2 separate regions of the Homo sapiens genome follow, and region 1 is linked to region 2. Evidence: promoter capture Hi-C in human tissues and cell types (Jung and others, 2019). All regions are on one chromosome and are shown on one strand. Each heading gives the region's core, a stretch centred on a gene start or on the middle of the fragment in contact. The rest is flanking DNA. Distances are from core to core; before and after follow the strand shown. Region 1 overlaps MRPS9 (mitochondrial ribosomal protein S9). Region 2 holds the start of GPR45 (G protein-coupled receptor 45).

Region 1 (6,193 bases), core at 1,955-4,454, 170 kb after region 2:
CATTAAAATTTGAAAAAAAAAAAAAAAAAAGTCTTAGAATTAACTGAATAAGGCACAAACACGTGCTGCCAGGACTTTGCTCATTGGTCTGTCTACTCTGCGTCAGTAACCACCATTTTAATTAGCAGAGCTTTTTGCTGGGTTTTGATACCAGGTATGATGAGCTTACTTCATTACTTAAAACAATTTTTTTTCCCACTGCTTCTTGCACAACTAGACTTGACAAGTTTCTCCCAAAAGTTGTGCCAAAACTTTAAGTAAAGTTATATTCAATTTATCAATAATTTAGAAAGCAGCAACTCTGGAATATTGTCTTCCCTTAGAGAACCATGGAATTTTTCCAACTGTTCAGATTTTCACTTCTGATCTTTAACTGAGTTATCATAATTTTCTATATAAATCTCATATATTTTGCAAGTCTTATTTGTGTATTTTAGTTTCTGTTTCTCTTGATACTGCCCTCCCCTATTCAGTTATCTATAATAAAAACATAATTTTACACAAGTAACACATACTTCCCAGATCACATGTTAAAATTCCGTTGCCAGAACAAGGCGGGAGTTTATTGTTCTGGACTCTCTGTGCATTTACCTATGTATGCCTGCATGAAATAGGGTTGTTTGTGTGGTTCTTTTAAAGATATAAACGGTATTAAACTGTATTTATGCTACATACACCATTTTTTTACTTGCTTTTTCCACTCAAAGTTACACCTCTACTAGCACAACTAGCTCTATCTCACTCTTTTTACGGCCTGTATATTATTCCACAGCATGAGTTTATTTAGCTACCCTATGATGAACATTTAGACTTTTTCCAATTTGTTGCTGATACAATATTTACAATTTCCAACCTGATGATTGTGATAATTGTCTCTCATTATTGTTTTACAAGATGTTATTTCTTTTCTTCTTCTTTTTTTTTTTTGAGATGGAGTCTCCCTCTATTGCCCAGGCTGGAGTGCAGTGGCACAATCTTGGCTCACTGCAACCTCCACCTCCTGGGTTCAAGTGATTCTCCTGCCTTAGCCTCCCGAGTAGCTGGGACTACAGGCGTGCGCCACCACGCCCGGCTATTTTGTATTTTTAGTAGAGATGGGGTTTCCCCATGTTGGCCAGGCTGGTCTTGAACTCCTGACCTTGTGATCCACCTGCCTCGGCCTCCCAAAGTGCTGGGATTACAGGGGTGAGCCACCATGCCCATCCATAAGATGTTATTTCTGATCTCTGATATTTTCAAATGCTTACTGGTACTTTAATTTTTTCTATTTATGAATTGCTTATTTGCCTTTGCTCATTTCTCTAGTAAGCTGCTTTTGTTAATTTGTGAGTAATTTATTCTAGGTATCAGGCCTCTGGCATGTTTCAAATTTCCTAGTGTCTTTGTCAAAGAGAAATTTTTAACTTCAACATAAGTAATTTGTCATCTTTGTCCTTTAGTTTTTGTGATTTTAAGGACATAATATCTATTACTTTAAAAGTATTGAAAGCTGTATGTATATTCTTCAACTAGCCACCTTATTTCTGTTCTAGAGTTTGAATTTCTTAACTCCAAAAACACACAATAATTTTTAAAGTCTTGACCAAACTCTGTTATCTTCTGCATAGTCTATTTTTCAGCATTCCATTAAATGAATTGAGAAAAAGGAGGTACATGTATGTATATACGTATGTATGTGTCTGTATGAATATGTAGGTATGTATTTGTATAGTTGGAATTCAGCGTTTTTAAAACAGTTCTTGTCTGCCAAAATACATAAAGGAAGTGAAAGATTGCAATTCATTTGCTACCAGTAAGACCATCATGTTATTTAGTTCATCATTACATGCCATTCCACACTGATTTCTTTGTGTGTAGATGTGGCTGCCACAGAGTCATCAACTGACAGGATGCTCATATGATCTCTGCAGGATCAGCATTTCGCCCAGTAACTATACTGTGGCATGCTTTTATAAGAGGGTATCATTTTTAAAATTTTCAGAACAATTCATAGTTTAAATGTTTTGAATTCAGGTACCCAAATAATGGTAGTCTGCTGAAATTCTAATATAGTTTTTAGTGAATGTTTTCTATTTTCTAAGTAGGCAGTCATAACATCTGTGAATAATAATCGATTTTCCTAATTTCTTTCAGTTTTCTAATTCATACTTTTTTAGCCACACTTTTTTTTTTAACCATGCTAGGTAAAACTTCCAAAACAATGCCAAATAACACAGGCGAGTATGCACATAACTGTCTTATTCCTGAACTTAATGGGATCTATTGATATATTTTTAAATTTGATGTGTTTCTGTTTGTCTTGATATGCTTTCTCAAACTAAGAAAGTTTCTTTTTATTTCTAGGTTGTGTTTTTACCAAAAAAATTAATGCTCAATTTTGTTAATTAACTTTTTTATTGAAATGTTTTAACCTTGACTCAATTAACACAGAGAATTACATAAATCATCCTTATTTTCCTGGAGAGAAAAAAAGGCCCTCTGGTATACTCTCTTAATATAAAGCTTTACTTGGTTTGCTAGTGTTTTATTTAGTGACAACAGACTATAGCTTTCTTTTTCATGAAATTTATGTCCAGATTTGATAATTGTGTGACCCTCTGAAGGGAATTTAGAAGCTTTCATTCTTTTCTTCTGCTCTACAAGTTTAAATGATAACAATAGTTACATCCTCCTTCAAGGTATGTCAGAGCTTCCCGACAAAACCTTCTAGGCCTGGGCCTTTCTCATTAGACCTTTGGCGCTCCTTTATAACTTCTGCAGCTTTTAGATTAACACAGGGGTACCCAACCCCTGGGCCACAGACAGGTACCAGGTTCTATTGATTTGTATTTGCTGTCATGACTGGTCAACTGGGACCAGAGTGGGTGTTTCGCAGTAAGAGCACTTGGTTCTACAGTAGGGGTCCCCAGCCCCTAGACCACAGACCAGCATAGCTTCATCTGTATTTATAGACATTCCCCATTGCTCACATTACCGCCTGAGTGCCACATCCTGTCAGATCAACAGTGCGATTAGATTCTCATAGGAGCGTGAACCCTATTGTGAACAGCACATGCGAGGGATCTAGGTTGCATGCTCCTTATGAGAATCTAAGGCCTGACGATCTGTCACTGTCTCCCATCAACACCACATGGGACAATGTAGTTGCAGAAAAACAAGCCCAGGCCTCACACTGATTCTACATTACGGTGAGTTGTATAATTATTTCATTATATCTTACAATGTAATAATAGAAATAAAGCTCACAATAAATGTAATGAGCTTGAATCATCCCGAAACCATCCCCCAACCCCTGGTCCGTGAAATCGTCCTTCACAAAATTGGTCCCTGGCGCCAAAAAGGCTGGGGACCACCGGTTTAACCACTATTCTCCTGATTGAGACAACTGTGGCAATTATATTATTCTTTCAACTACATGTCTGAGAGTCAGTTGAGTCTGGTGGTCATACATATGTGTGTGTGCCACAACTGCCTGGGCCTCCCTACATTCTGGCTCAACTATTTCCTGGCTGTTACGTCCTTGGTAAGTTAAACTCCATGTGCTTTTAATTCCTACATTTGTGCAGTGGGGAAAATTACAGTATCTACTTAAAAAACCTGTTGTGAAGAGTGTAAGTTAACACACAGGAAGCACTTAGAACTATGCCTGGCCTACTCTGTTTCAATAAATGCTAACAATTCTTACTTGAGAGATTTTTCAAGTTAGAATAAAGTTACCCATAACAACTGCATACTTTAAAATTACCCTCTGAATATTATTATTTACAATTCTTAATATTGTCCTCTTATGTTTTCTCTTTTTTCCCTGGCCAGATTTGCTAGAAGTTGATTGATTTCACTAGCTTTTTCAAAGAATGACATGGTTTTGTTTATCATACCCCTTCTTTTCAATTTCTTCGCTATGTTCCTCTATTCTATTTTTCTTTTTCTGGCTTCCTGAACCGAAAATTTAGTTCATTTATATTCAGTCTTTCTTAATTTCTAACAAATATATGCTTGTCTCTGTATAATACAATGTCCATATTCCATAGGATTTAATAGGAACTGTTGTCATTGTCATGTCTGTAACCTCAATTTTGATTTTCTCTTTAACTCAACAGTCATATGGTTCTATTGATCTTAACTCAGAAAAATCGAATGATATGATTTTTACTACTTGGAATTCGTTAGGTTTTCTTTATGTCCAATTACATCATAATTCTATTAATAGTCCATAGGCCTCTGCATAGAAAATGTATTCTTTGTATCTGTAACTATAAAATCATGCTGTGTTATTCAAATTCGTTATAGCCTTAAGTTAACGGCTTTTGTTTTGAACATTTCGATGCTAAATGTTGGTGCAAAAAGGTTTGTGGTCATCAAATCTACTCAATGGAGATTAGGTTTTATCAACATAAATTAACATTCTTGCTTCGTTGAAGTATTCCTCACACTCCTTGAATTCCATTTTGTCTAATATGAGTGCTACTCTTTGCTCCTGTTGACCCAGTAGTCATCTTTGTTTCACTTAATATTTTTATCACTTGCTTTAAAACATACAGAGCAAGATTTCATGTTAACTCAATCTAGAAGCTTCCATCTTTTAATAAGGAAAGTGTTAGTACACTATAAGTGTCAAAATCTATCCAAATCTAAAATTCACTGTTACTTTTTTAGCATACAAAAAAATCAGTTTATCCTATATTTATGAAATACAACAAAATTGGGAGGTAGGTAGGTAAGCAACAAAAAAATTTTACTAATTCTAGAGGAGTACTGTTTACATACAGTTACATATAGTAAACTACAACTTAAGATAATCCTACCAGGAGTGACATATTTTCAAAATAACACATGGGCATTTTGCAGGGATATATAGAAGTTTCAGTTGTCACAACCTGGCTGCTAGTAACAATAAACTTCTAATACTGAGAAGCTGGTATGATTTGAAAGAACAAACCAGTCTTAGAGGGGCAGATGTATAAGAAGAGATGCAACTAGTAGAGATATAAAGAACAAAGAGAGAGAGAAATAGGTGAGGAGCCTGAGAGGTTTAAAAAAATAGAAGAGTTAGTAAAGAAGAAGAAGAAAAAAAAATCACTGTCATTACAAACATTTACCGAAAAGCTACTAGGTGTTTAATGTAAGTTACTGTGCCCTGTGCATAGTTTTACTTCTGTAACACTGAGTTGTATCTGCAAAAGTGATGTGCATTTTTAACATAGTCTTCATTTATTATTTCCCCAAAAGCTATTATTAAATCGATGGTATAATTTATAATCAACCATGATTAAGAACTGAGGGAATACAAATGATAGAGCATATTTATAAAAAGATTCAAAACATTTATAATAAGATTCAAACTAAAAGTTATCATTTCCAAGAGTGAACTGGAATAAGAGAATAAATGCCTAGCTTTGAATAAAAATATGACTTAGCAGAAATACCACTGCAAAATAAATAAGTCTTCTATAGAAATATCTGCTATCTTACCAATTTCTATTTAATTCTAAACACACTGATAAAGCGGCCTGCGTATTGAGAACCTGTGGCCACCAAGCTATTCTCAAGTAGATCCACACATTTTTGCTGCTGAGTTTCATGCTTACTAATAGTTATGTTTACTCCCAAGCCTATTTTATTACAGTTGTACTTATTTCTATAAATACATGAATTAAGTATTACATAAATAAATTAAATATGAGTGCAAACATAAAAGTTGCTACTTCTAAGAAAACTAGGTTGAATGCTCTAGAAAGGCAAGTTGCTAAAAAAAAAAAAAGTTGTGTCAACTTCAGTAAGGTTGATGGGAAGAATCTGTAGAAATACAAAAATATTCTGCACTCAGATTTCTTAGGAAGTGTAAGTTCACTGCTCCACTGCAAGAAAATCAAAACTGAAAGACTGCGATGATGCATCAGCAGCATGGTTACATAAAAGCAACGGGGAGCAGCAGACACACTCAAAACCACCAAACCTCTAGGGTCACAGCAAAAGCTTGATGGGTAAGTACAGGTTACATTTTGAGTGTTTTTTAAAGAAATGATTTCTAGCTTTAATACTTTTTAAGTTAACAGAGAACTACTGGTCCTCACTGGATAAGAGGTTTCTAATGTATAGTAAATATATTATTCAATTTCTTGACAACCTTAAAGCTTGCTGTGTATTTTCTTCAATTTTTTTTTTTTACACATTTAAAAGATAAAGAGAATAT
Region 2 (5,602 bases), core at 2,720-5,219:
TCTTTCCAGCTTTGCTACTAACTTTCAGGCTCTAGACTTCCTGAAGTCTTTTGTCTTATTCAGGCATCACTATGGCCTGAATATTGGTGTCTCCAAAGCTCATGTGTTGGAAACTAATACTCAATGTGATAGTATTAAGAGATGGGGCCTTTGGGAGGTGAATGAGATTGGTGCCCCTGAAAAGAGGCTTGAGGGAGTGCCCCTTCCCTTTCTGCCATGCGAGGACACAGCAACAAGGCGTCACCTAAGAAGCAGAGCAGGAACCCTCACCAGACACTGAATCTACCTAAACCTTTATCCTGGACTTCCCAGCATCCAGAACTGGAAGAAATAAGTTTCTGTTGTTTATAAATTACCCAATCTAACACATTTTGTTACAGCAGTCTGAACAAACTGATATAGGAGTATTGGGTATTGGATCCTGGGCTTAATATGTATGGTCTTGGTGCAAATTTTGGCAAGAACTTAGGCTTATACACCGAAAGAGCAATAATACTTTATTTAAAATATATACAAAATTATTACTTTGAAACATATATATTACTGTCCAACATACATCATATAACACTGATTGATGTAAATTTTGGTACCTTCATTTATTCAGTTGTGATTTCCCTTTTGTTCAAGGCTCCTGAAGAAAATTATCTGAAATGCCCACCAGAGGGGAGGTGCCCATGGGCTTGGTCCCCTTGGTGACTTGGCTGTGCTGTTGGGCACTACTGAGGCCCTAGAGCCCTGCTCCATGGAGCTGAAGGCAAATCCCCACCTTGCTGGGGGACCTGGGGACACAGAATTGATGGAACCCACCTCCGTCGGTCACACATCAATTGCTCATCTTCTCCCTCTCTCTCCATCTGGGTATAAACAGGGAGGGAGGTGAGGGGGAACAAGTGTCAGTTATCTTCTTAACCCTCCTCTGGGCTGAAGAGGAGGGTTAAGAGAAATGATGTTTTCCCTTTCACCCCCCTTTCTTCTCTGCCCATGTTACCACTACTGCGGGAAGAAAGTATGAGAAGGAGGAGCTGGCTCTTAATGCAGTTTAGAAAGAAACGGGAAGTGAAGCAAAAATGGGGCTTCTGTGCTCTTAGGCTGAATTTGAGTTACCATGATCCTGAGATAAATCAGACAACTGCTTTTGGGCATGGCCTATGATGCCTCATTCATCACTATCTCCCGCACAGTGCCTTACACCTAGTAGGCACTTAATGCATGCTCTTTGCATGGATGAATAAATGAATGCAGGGGATCTGATGACTACAGACAGAAAACACACATTTCAGAATCAGAGTGTTTGAGAGATGAAAGGGGACATTGGAAATCATCTAGATCTGCTTCCTCATTTGGCATATGGGGAAACTGAGGCCCACAGAAATGAGAAACGATCAAGGTCAAATGACTAGTTCCTGATAGAGTCAGACCTGGAATCAGATTTTCTAAATCTCTCCTTAAATTTCCCACCCTCTTCAGATCTGGAACAATAAAGAGAGCTCAGTGGGCTCAGTGCTATGCCCTGGACTCAGGACCCTCATATGCCAGTGTGGGGACCCCTGGTGGTGGCCGAATAGAGCACAAGCAGAGAAGCCCCCTTTGGGCAACTTCACTTCTGGGATCTGGTCCCAGTAGGTAAACAGGATGGCAGCAGTGGATCTGAATGAGGTAGGAGGAACACAGAGACCAGTGGGGACCCCGAGAATTGGGCTCGTTGGTGTGGCACCTGCAGCGGGTCCAGTGCTGAAGTGGATTTGGTGGGTTGAAGGGCTCTGGAGCTCCAGGGTGTCCAAAGGAAATGTGTAAACTAAGCCCAGCCTGCTCACTGCTGACACTGAAAGCAGGTCACTACAGATGCTTGCTCAGCGGGTGAGCTATAGCACACTGGATATGGATGGGAGGAAAACGAAGGGAGGCAGGGAGAGGGGTGGAGGAAAGAGGGAAGGGCCAAGGGGCTCTCCAGCAGACAGGGAGGCCTAGTGGCCTCAGGGTGCAGGGACGGGGTGGGCCCAGCAGGTGGGGGGCGCTGGGGACATGCAGGAGTTCCCGGATGTGCTTCTCACTTCAGCTGGGCTGCCCAGGACCTTCTCTGGGCTTCAAGCCTCTGAGGCCTCCCATGCGTCATTGCAGGGAGCTCAAAGCACAGAGGCTCACTCTGCTTCCCCGTGTGATTTTGGTTTCTTTCTAGAAAAGATACTTAGGCATGGGAAGAAATGCACATCTGATCAACATAAAGAACCTCATGTGAGTCCCCACACACCACAAACATCAATAGCTGAAGAACCCTGGTGTCAAACAAAATGAATGAACACCCAGGAGCTCACACCTACTGGGGTTTCTCAGGGTTTCTCTTGAGCAGGTGCAGAGAGGGCTCGCAGGGCAGGTTGAAGCTCTTGTGACTGACCAGTCCTCCTGCCCCACACTCAACCAGCTTCATTCCCTGTTGCCCTCCTCCTCCCTTTCTGCCCAACTTCTGCACTCCCCAGCCCACTCCATTTTTGACTTAATGACGTTGCAGTTCCCATCAGCCCCATATTTGGCTCTCTGCAAAGAGAAACAAAAATAATTCATCGTGCCAAAATTTGAAATTTGGGAGCTGCAGCTCATCTGATTACAAATGAGTACCTTTGTGCTTAAATTGCCACCACAAAGTGCAGACTATGACCAACATGCCAGGGAACAGAGCAGGACAGATCCACCCTGGGACTGGGGCTCAGCTGCCCCTTCTCTGTGGCCCCCTGACCCCCTAAACCGCAGACTGGTTTTCATTGCACACGTAGACTGTGCTTGGCTGGATTCTCCTTCGGATCCGCTCAGGCACTTTGGGGAGGATTTGGAAGGTCTGGGGCAGCAACTCTATGCAGGCCTCGCGGAATTTTTTGATTCTCCAGCAGTAGACGATGGGGTTGAAGACGGACTTGAGGTAACTGAGCCACAGGACGCAGGTGCTGGTGGCGTAGAAGGAGGAACCGCAGTAAAAGCGCTGGCTAAACACAGACAGGAGGCTGTAGACGGAGTGGGGCAGCCAGCAGAGGGAGAAGCCCACGAAGAGGATCAGGATGGTGGTGAAGGCCTTGGTCTTGAAGCTCAAGTCCACGCTGACCTGTTGCTGCCGCTGCAGGCGCCGCAGGCCCGCCCTGGTGAGCTGCCGCAGGTCCAGGCTGTCCGACTGGTTGTGCACGCGCACGGCGTTCTTGCGGACCGTGTTGAGGATGCACATGTAGGCGCACAGCATGACGCCAAAGGGCGCGAAGAACACGGCCACCACCAAGGTGACCACGTAGGCGCGGTCAGCGGGGAGCTCCGTGTAGCCCAGCACGCACTGTGGGGCCCGCGCCGGCACCTCCACCAGCGTCCAGCCCGTGAGCGAGGGCCCCGCGATGCAGAAGGACAGCACCCAGGAGACCGCGATGATCACCTTGGCCCTGCGCGGGTTCAGCTTGTCCTGGCGCTGGACGATGATGAGGAAGCGGTCCACGCTGATGATGAGCAGGATGGCCACGCCCTCCAGGACAAAAAACCAGTAGAGCGTGGCTGAGAGGCGGCAGAAGTGGTCCCCAAAGTGCCAGCGCACGGTGATGAGGGTGACGGCGGTGAAGGGCATGCAGCAGAGGGACAGCATGATGTCGGAGAAGGCCAGGGTGGCCAGCAGCAGGTTGATGGCCGAGCGCATAGCCGGCCTCTGGTACACGATGATGCAGACCACAGTGTTGCCCAGGAACCCCACCACGGTCATCAGCAGCATCACTATGGCCAAGGAGATCCTGAGGGGTGCGGGCAACTGGGTGGACCCCGAGTCTGAGGCGTTGCTGGTGTTCAGCAGCAGGTATGTGTAAGCCTCAAGGGACGTGCTGTTGCAGGCCATCGTGGAGAGACCCTTGGAGCTGGGACAGAAATGGCCGGGAGGGCTCCCCTCAGCACTTGGGTGGCTGCCATTCTTTGTCTGCTGGCTGCATCTTCCTGGATGTCTGTGGACCTCTGGGGCACTGGAATGGTCTTGGGGAGAAATGTCCGTCTTTGTGAGCACTAGCTGGGATTTGCGATTCATGGATCACATCCTAAGCATCTCTGTGGAGAGCGACTCTGTGCACAGCTTCGTGCTTGGACCCTCTGTAGTGGACAGCAAGCAAAAGTACAAAAGAGAAGGGGGTTAGAGTTTCCAAACGCGTTGAAGAAAGCACGCGTTTAAGCTTTACAGGTGTTTCTAAACAAGTTTATTTACCACGTGGGACAAAGCTTGATATTCACAAATACTGTCTGAGTCTTGTCAAGCAGCCCAGAAAAACCTAATCAGCTATCTTCTGAGGAAACTGAGGAAGTACACTTTGTAGTTAGTGTTTATGTAATAACTTGAGTTTTCAGCAACCTGTCGGAATGAAGCCTTGGTCTAGCCAACTAACGTTAGAATCCTGCTCCACAAGAGAAAGGTTTTGCTTGTTTCATTCTCTGCTATCTCCCAGTACTGACAACAGTGGCTGGCATGCAGTAAGTGTCCTTGTTGAGGACACTTGGATGCTTGTTGAGTAGATGAATAAGTGATAGTTGATGCTGCTGCTATAATATTTGTTTAGCTTTAAAAAACCCCACTTCATCGAGGAATGACTGACATGTCAAAAGCTGTACAAATTTACATCTCAATATACCAGAAACCCATCACCACCAAGGCCAAAAACATATCCCACTCCCCCTGCCAAAGCTCTCTCCTGCCATTTTTCTAGTATTATCATTTTGTTTTGGTGGTAAGAATACTTCACCTAAGATCTGCCCTCTTAGCAAATTTTAAGTATACATTTTTAAGTTTTAATTTTTTAAAAGAAATTGTAAGTCTGTTTGTTTAACTTTATTTGATAAGTGTAAATTCACATGGATAAGTGTAAATTCACATGGAGTTATAATAATAAATACTATGGTGAAATTCTGTGTGTCCTTCACCCAGTTTTCCCTAATGGTAACATCTTGGATAACTGTGGGGCTGCTATACTATTACTTCTGGAAGCACAGACTGGGAGAAGGGAACTTTCCCCAAAGGTAAGGCCTTTTAAAATACAATGTTAGCTGGGTGCAGTGGCTCATGCCTATAATCCCAGCACTTTGAGAGGCAGAGACAGGAGGATTGCTTGAGGCCAGGAGTTCAAGACCTGCCTGGGCAACATAGAGAGATCCCATCTCTACACACACAAAAAAATGAGCCAGGCTTCCATCTATAGTCCCTGCTACTCAGGAGGCCGAGGCAGGAGGATTGCTCAAGCACAGAAGTTCGAGGCTGTCGTGAGCTAAGAAGGTGTCACTGTACTCCAGCCTGGGTAACAGAGTGAGACCCTGTCTCTTAAAAAAAAAGTAAATGAAATGAGCTTTTATTCCTTACATTCTTGATAAACTTGCTTTCACTTTCAAAAAGATAAATATAATTTTAATTTTGTCTCACTGATGTGGCAAGAGTGTGTTCAGTAGCTCAGGTCTGAAGTCACATCGCCTGGGCTGGGGGAAATCCAGCCTGCGCCATTTATCCACCCTGGACATCTGGCTGTTGGATGCACCTCTTCTTGTAAGAAATTTCTCTTTTCTAAATTCCTTGTGGTCATTGTTACAGATAACTCACACTGAGAGGAATGTG

Evidence for each region. Contacts are between HindIII fragments. The study calls those that stand out against the background at their distance.
Region 1: a fragment that was not itself captured here is called in contact with the fragment with the promoter of GPR45 in region 2 in 4 of the 25 tissues and cell types used here (H1 embryonic stem cells, bladder, neural progenitor cells and 1 more).

The regions. Positions count from the first base shown.
Region 1 is chr2:105,071,979-105,078,171 of GRCh38, reverse strand. All of the region lies in intron 4 of MRPS9 (mitochondrial ribosomal protein S9), which reads right to left. Among named protein-coding and RNA genes, the nearest start is that of MRPS9-AS1, 28 kb to the left of the region's middle. The HindIII fragment of the contact is 4,140 bases long and covers 1,135-5,274 here.
Region 2 is chr2:105,240,110-105,245,711 of GRCh38, reverse strand. It overlaps GPR45 (G protein-coupled receptor 45), which reads right to left and starts at 3,969. Exons shown (of 1, transcript NM_007227.3): 1 at 2,245-3,969. The coding sequence starts at 3,853. The coding sequence ends at 2,735. The HindIII fragment of the contact is 15,889 bases long and covers 1-5,602 here.